Linked DNA regions of Homo sapiens: region 1 is linked to region 2. The links are contacts of gene promoters, found by promoter capture Hi-C in blood cells and fetal thymus (Javierre and others, 2016). All regions are on one chromosome and are shown on one strand. Each heading gives the region's core, a stretch centred on a gene start or on the middle of the fragment in contact. The rest is flanking DNA. Distances are from core to core; before and after follow the strand shown. Region 1 has its middle 29 kb from the start of GRAMD4. Region 2 holds the start of CERK (ceramide kinase).

The links. The method cuts DNA at HindIII sites, captures the fragments that hold promoters and counts their contacts. A CHiCAGO score of 5 or more calls a contact.
Region 1: a contact is called between a fragment that was not itself captured here and the fragment with the promoter of CERK in region 2, in 1 of 17 cell types (M0 macrophages). The highest score is 5.1, in M0 macrophages.

What each region holds. Positions count from the first base shown.
Region 1 is chr22:46,589,654-46,592,812 of GRCh38, reverse strand. It overlaps a transcript of GRAMD4 not described here. Among named protein-coding and RNA genes, the nearest start is that of GRAMD4, 29 kb to the left of the region's middle. The HindIII fragment of the contact is 4,760 bases long and covers 1-3,159 here.
Region 2 is chr22:46,736,576-46,739,580 of GRCh38, reverse strand. CERK (ceramide kinase) reads left to right here and starts at 1,329. Exons shown (of 13, transcript NM_022766.6): 1 at 1,329-1,574. The coding sequence starts at 1,433. RefSeq lists enhancers at 487-816, 190-848, 2,087-2,256, 2,944-3,005 and a silencer at 977-1,936. The HindIII fragment of the contact is 34,881 bases long and covers 1-3,005 here.

The sequences.
Region 1 (3,159 bases), core at 644-3,143, 150 kb after region 2:
GAAAGCAAGGCAGGCAGCCAGCAGCCCCTCCACGATGCCGGCCACATCCTGGAGGTGCCGGGCGCGGTGTCAGCCAACAAATCAGCCGACACTGGGGTTTTTAAAGCCCCTTGCAGAGCTGGTCACCATACATGTGGGCCGCAGAATTCCAAGACTCTCGGGAGAGAAATTTTGCTTCTGCAGGCGTAGAGGATGTGGTTCCTCCCTGGTGCAGTCGGAACAGTGAAAACATTCAGGAAAGTAACTGAATCGAGCCCCTCCCGGCTGTGAATGACTGAGTTCACCACACAGCCACAGTGGGGCTTCTTCACCTTGCTCGCCATGACTCAGTGCTAACAGCCCACTTCATCCTTTTTTTTTTTTTTGGAAACAGGGCCTCCTCCCTATGTTTCCCAGGCTGGCTTCAAACTCCTGGGCTCTATGGATCCTCCCGCCTTAGCCTCCCAAGGAGCTGGGACCACAGACACGCACCCCTGCACCCAGCTCTGCTGTTTTTAATCGTACAATTAAGCAGTCAGTTATTTAAAAATACACACTTGCCCAACTTAAAAGAACCACACTTATTTATCAATTATGCCAGCTGGGCTGGTGGCAGTAGCAGTGGGCCTCATTCCCTAGGGCACTCTGGGGGCGCAACCCTATGGGGACTGTCCCCCAACTATGGCACCACCTAACCTGAGCCCCGGTGGCCCTGCTGAGCTGGGCGTCAGGATGAGGTCTCGACTCCCGTGACATCAACCAACTTTCCTGGAATGTGCCGTGATGCCCTTGACAAGTGTGGGGACTTGGGGGCGAGAGGGAGGGCCTTGCTGTGTCAAGCCTGCAGGCACAGGAGGGGACACACCAGTCCTGGGCTGGGCCCCAATGTCCACTGATATCACAGATGCTTTCTGACTGTCCCTGGGCATGGCTAACTGAGGGGTGCGGGGGCTGAGGGGTGCGGGGGTTGGCCTTTCTGGGTTTTTTTTTTTTTTTTTTTTGAGACAGAGTCTCGCTCTGTCACCCAGGCTGGAGTGCAGTGGCTTGATCTTGGCTCACTGCAACCTCCGTCTCCCGAGTTCAAACGATTCTCGTGCCTCAACCTCCAGAGTAGCTGGGATTACAGGCACCCACCACCACACCCGGCTAATTTTTATTTTTAGTAGAGACAGGGTTTTGCCATGTTGGCCAGACTGGTCTCCAACTACTGACCTCTGGTATTCCACCTGCCTCAGCCTCCCAAAGTGCTGGGATTACAGGCGTGAGGCACCGTGCACGGCCCGGGGGTGGCCTTTATGAGGGATGCAACCTAGGACTTCAGCAATGTCCGTTAGCCTCTGCCTCATGGAGCTTCAGTAACGTCGTCCAAATGAATTTGGTAAATCTGTCCAAAACAACAAACCCCAACTCCCACCTCAGCCTCCCAAGGAGCTGGGACTACGACATGCACCACCACACCCAGCTAATTTTTTATTTTTAGTAGAGATGGAGTCTCACTATGTTGCCCAGGCCGTTCTCAAACTCCTGAGCTCACGCAATCCTCCCCCTCTCAGCCTCTCAAAGTGCTGGGACTACAGGCATGAGCCACTGCACCCAGCCCTGTTAATTTCTGTTTAAGTCCCTGAAGAGAGAATTTAAGATAACGAGAGATTTCACTATCACACACTGGACCCCGCGGCTGAGAGGGCAGCAGTTTCCCACCTTAGGCCATTCCAGGGCTCTTGCCTTCTCTGGCTGTTTTTTGGGTTTGTTTGTTTTTTTTTCTTTTTCTTTTTAGACAGAGTCTTGCTCTATCACCCAGGCTGGAGTCCGGTGGCACGATCTTGGCTTACTGCAATCTCCGCCTCCCAGGTTCGTGCAATTTTCATCCCACAGCCTCCTGAGTAGCTGGGATTACAGGCACCCACCACCATGCTGGCTAATTTTTGTATTTTTAGTAGAGACAGAGTTTCACCATCTTGGCCAGGCTGGTCTCAGACTCCCGACCACAGACAATCCACCTGCCTCGGCCTCCCAAAGTGTTGGGATTACAGGCATGAGCCAGTGTGCCCGGCCTCTGGCTGTTTTTATAAACTAGTAGTGTCCATCGTCCTTAGCTGTCCTCAGACAACACTGTGGACTCTCCCCCAATCTCTCTGAGCTCCTCCTCCCCTCACCCAAGCACGCCCTGGCGGGACCTCTGCTGCTCTCTCCCTCCCCTGTTGACACTCACCTGGGCCCAGCCCGGGTTTCTCCCCTCCCATTCCCCTCTACCAGGCCACCAAACCAGGCCAGTCACGAGCAACAGGCAGACACCAGCTGACTGGGTGTTAACGGCAGCAGCCCAGGCCTGGTCACACACACAGTGGCCCAGGTCACCTCCTCCTTGGGACGCGCTCCTGGCCAATCCCAGCCCTCGGGGTTAGTGGAGCGCTCACCCATCCCCGGCACCTTCTCAGCTCTCTGCCAAGGACTGGCTGGAGGAAGGACACTGGGAGAGGTCCCCAGTACTCCCGAACCCCACCCACTAGCCACCTTCCCCCAGCTTCCCAATCAAAGCCTCCCACCAAGAGGAATCAGGCCGAGGGCCATCCATGTGGCCCCAGAGCTGTCACAGTCAGACTCCCAGCTCCGCCCCTCTGGACGCAGGAGGCACGCAGGGCACAGGGCTGTCCAGGCGGCCCAGTAGCTGGTGTAGATGTGGGGGCAGGGCTCTGGCCCCCCAGGCCAAGGCTCTCCTGACTGCCACGGCTCTGCCCACCCGGGCCAACAGTAGGCAGGAATCAACCAGACTCAGGGCTCCCAACCAGGCCAGGACCCATCCTGCAAGACTGCCGTGGGAGTTACAGGAGGCGACACGGCCTCCCCACCAATACATGCCGCAGGAACCAGGCAGCAGGGAGGGCCACGAGGGGAGCTGGCTGAAGGGGTAGGGAGAAAGCTGCAGAAAGGGTGTTGACAGGAGGCCTCTCTGAGGGGCTGAGGGAGGGGAGGCAGTCAGGCTGCTGGGGAGCAGGGCAGGGGCTGAGGTCCTGGCAGTGCAGCAGGCCTCAGGGTGCACACAAAGCAGGTGGGTCACCTAGAAACCTGAGGAGTGGGCTGGGCCAGAAGAGTTAAGGATCCACCCCATGAGGCTGAGGAGTGATCTTCCAAAATACTTAAATAAAGCAAACAGAGCGGGACTGGGGGGTAGCCACAGGG
Region 2 (3,005 bases), core at 80-2,579:
TTTCAGATCCACATTTCCCAGGCCTCAGAGCGGCAGCTGAGGGAGGGAGGAGGCTGGGCAGGCCTCGCTGCTGCACACCCCACTGTGTGCCACGATCAGGTACTGCCTGCTAGGACTCTGACTGGGCCCACGGTGGCTGCAGGACTGTCCTGGGGCCTTCACTGCATGGCCTGAACAGGGGCTGGGCTCCCAGGGAGGAATGATTCATGGCTGGTTCCCGCCCTATAGACAAGACAGTCACAAGGAGCTGGCAGGGTAAGACCTGTATATGCTGCCACCTGGTGCCAGGCACAGCAGCAAGGCCACGTGGACCTAGCCCACCTCACCTCTGCCTGCAGCAGCAGGGCTGGGTAGGGGAGCCGAGGGGAGGGGCAGGCCTCAGACCTCAGTGTCACATCCAGGCAGTGTCAGTGTGAGCCTAGGCTCTGCCACACTGGAGCCCTGTGCTCTTGGGCAAGTGACTTAACCTCTGTGAGCACAGTCTTCACTGATAAATCAGGGAGGGATGTGCCCTCCGAACCAGGTTGTGGCTGCTTCCTATGGGGCTGTGTTAAGCACTGCGGACGCAGAGACTGGAGCTTGCATGAAGGCGCACGGCGTGCTCTGAAGGCAGGGCTGGAGTCCCTGCAGGCTGGTGATTCCTTCAGCTGTGGGGTCAAGGAGGCCTTCCTGGGGAGGCGGTGAATTGGGGCCACAGGGGCCGTGTCTCTCCAAGTCTGGGGCCCAGGCTCCGGTTCCTAGGGCCAGCTCGGGGGCGGCTGCTCAGCTGTCTGCTCTGTGGCTTCAGGCCCCAGAGCAGTTCAAAGGGCCAGCGCCCCCGCCCCCTAAAAAGACCTCCGCCTCCTGAAAGCCTTACCTGCCTGTCGGGGCCCAGCTGCAGGCCCCCTCCCAGGCCGACAGGACGCCAGGATCGTAGAGGGCACCCGCCGCCCAAGGTCACGTCGCCCGTGGCGCCCCCATCCAGGCCCGCCCCCCGCCGCGCCCGATCGCCAGGACTGCGTTTCCACGCCGCCCGGACCCCGCCTGAACCGAGGCCCGCGCGGAAGGCGCCACTGAGTCCCGGCCGGCCGCGGGAGCGCCAGATTCAGCACCCGGCACCCGCCGGAGAAGAGAGGAGAGAAAGGCAGCCGCCTCCCGGCCCCAGCGCCCTGGCCTCGGCCAGCCCCATCCCGGCCCCTTCCTCCTCCCTCTTCTCCCCTTCTCGGGTCCCCCCGTCTCTCCCTGGCTCCCGGCCCCTCCTCTACCCACGCCTCCTCCTCGCCCCCGCCCCGCCCGTCCCCTCCGCGGTCCCCGCCGCCCGCGTACGGGGTGACGCAGCGCCGCCTCCCGCCGCCCGCCGCCCGCCGCCCGGGCCACTGCAGGGGCCGCTAACGGTCCGGCGCCCCTCGGCGTCCGCGCGCCCCCAGCCTGGCGGACGAGCCCGGCGGCGGAGATGGGGGCGACGGGGGCGGCGGAGCCGCTGCAATCCGTGCTGTGGGTGAAGCAGCAGCGCTGCGCCGTGAGCCTGGAGCCCGCGCGGGCTCTGCTGCGCTGGTGGCGGAGCCCGGGGCCCGGAGCCGGCGCCCCCGGCGCGGGTGAGTGTCGCCGCCGCCCGGGTTCGGCCGGACCTGGCCAGGGAGCGGGGGCGGCTTGGGGGACCCGGCTGGGGGGACCGGGTGCAGGGAGCGAGCGGCTGTGGTAAGGCCGGGGGCCCTGGGAGCGCAGGCGCCAGGGAGGGGTCGGGGCAGGCGGGAGGGAGGCCGGGGCCAGGGGCCGGGCTGTGCGCCGCCGTCTGCTCCGGGAACCCGAGGACAAAGCGCCGCGCAGTGGAGGGGAGGCCGGCGCCCCATCCCCGCGGGGAGGTGGGACCCGGGGCGCGGGGTCGTGGCCCCCGGTGCGGTCTGTCCGCAGGGCACCTCTGGACAAGACGGACTGTGGATGGATCCCGAGGGGGGGTGCCAGGCGCTCCCCACCGCGCGCATTGCAGTTTACTCCAAGAACAGATGCTTTTCTTTAGCAGGGATCCGAAACCTGAGAGGCGCCCTTGCAGGGTGAGGACTTCCTGTTAAGAAGTTAAAGAAGGGGCCCCTGACTTTCTGTGGGGTGTGCTCCCTGCTCGGGATGGGGGAATTGGTTTCCGTGCCACGGGTTGGCTACTTGCCCCGCAGAGGCCCTCCGGATGAGGAGAAGAGTGACTTTGGTAAACATGGAGGACGCATAGCCCACCCTGGAGAGAGCCCTGCAGGAGGACAGAGGGTTTGTTTTTGTTTTTTGTTGTTTTTTGTTTGTTTTTTGTTTTTTTTTTTTTTTGAGTCGGAGTGTTGCTCTGTTGCCCAGGCTGGAGTTCAATGCCACGATCTTGGCTCACTGCACCTCCGCCTCCTGGGTTCAAGCAATTCTCCCTGCCTCAGCCTCGGAGTAGCTGGGATTACAGGAGCCCGCTACTACGCCCGGCTAATTTTTGTATTTTAGTAGAGACAGGGTTTCACCATGTTGGCCAGGCTGGTCTTGAATTCCTGACCTCAGGTGATCTGCCCACCTCAGCCTCTCAAAGTGCTGGGATTACAGGTGTGAGCAACCGCACCCAGCCTTTTTTCTTTTTAATTATTGGGGTGGGTGTGGCAGAGGCCAGGATTCATGCTGGATGTGCGGAGCTGGAATGGGGTGGGTGTGGCGGAGGCCAAGATTCTCTGGTGGATATTCGGAGCCTGGGATGACACCTTTAGACCCTGTGGGCAGTCGAGGTCAGGAGTTCTTCTGGGCGCTTTCTGGTGCTGAGTGGTGAGGATCTGTGGGTTGGGTTCTGGTGGGGACAGAGTTGAACGTTAGGTGGGGCCAAGGTCGAGGGGTGGTCTCAGACCCATGACCAACACTTGGTTTCCAGCCCTGGGGTCACCTATCTGTGGCTGGGCATCTGAGACTTGACTTTCCTAAGGTATTTCTCATGTCCCCTTTGGTAGAAATGTCACACCCCAAATATCACCCACCAGGGCCCACACACAAGGAGAACAGGTGCCTGACCTGGG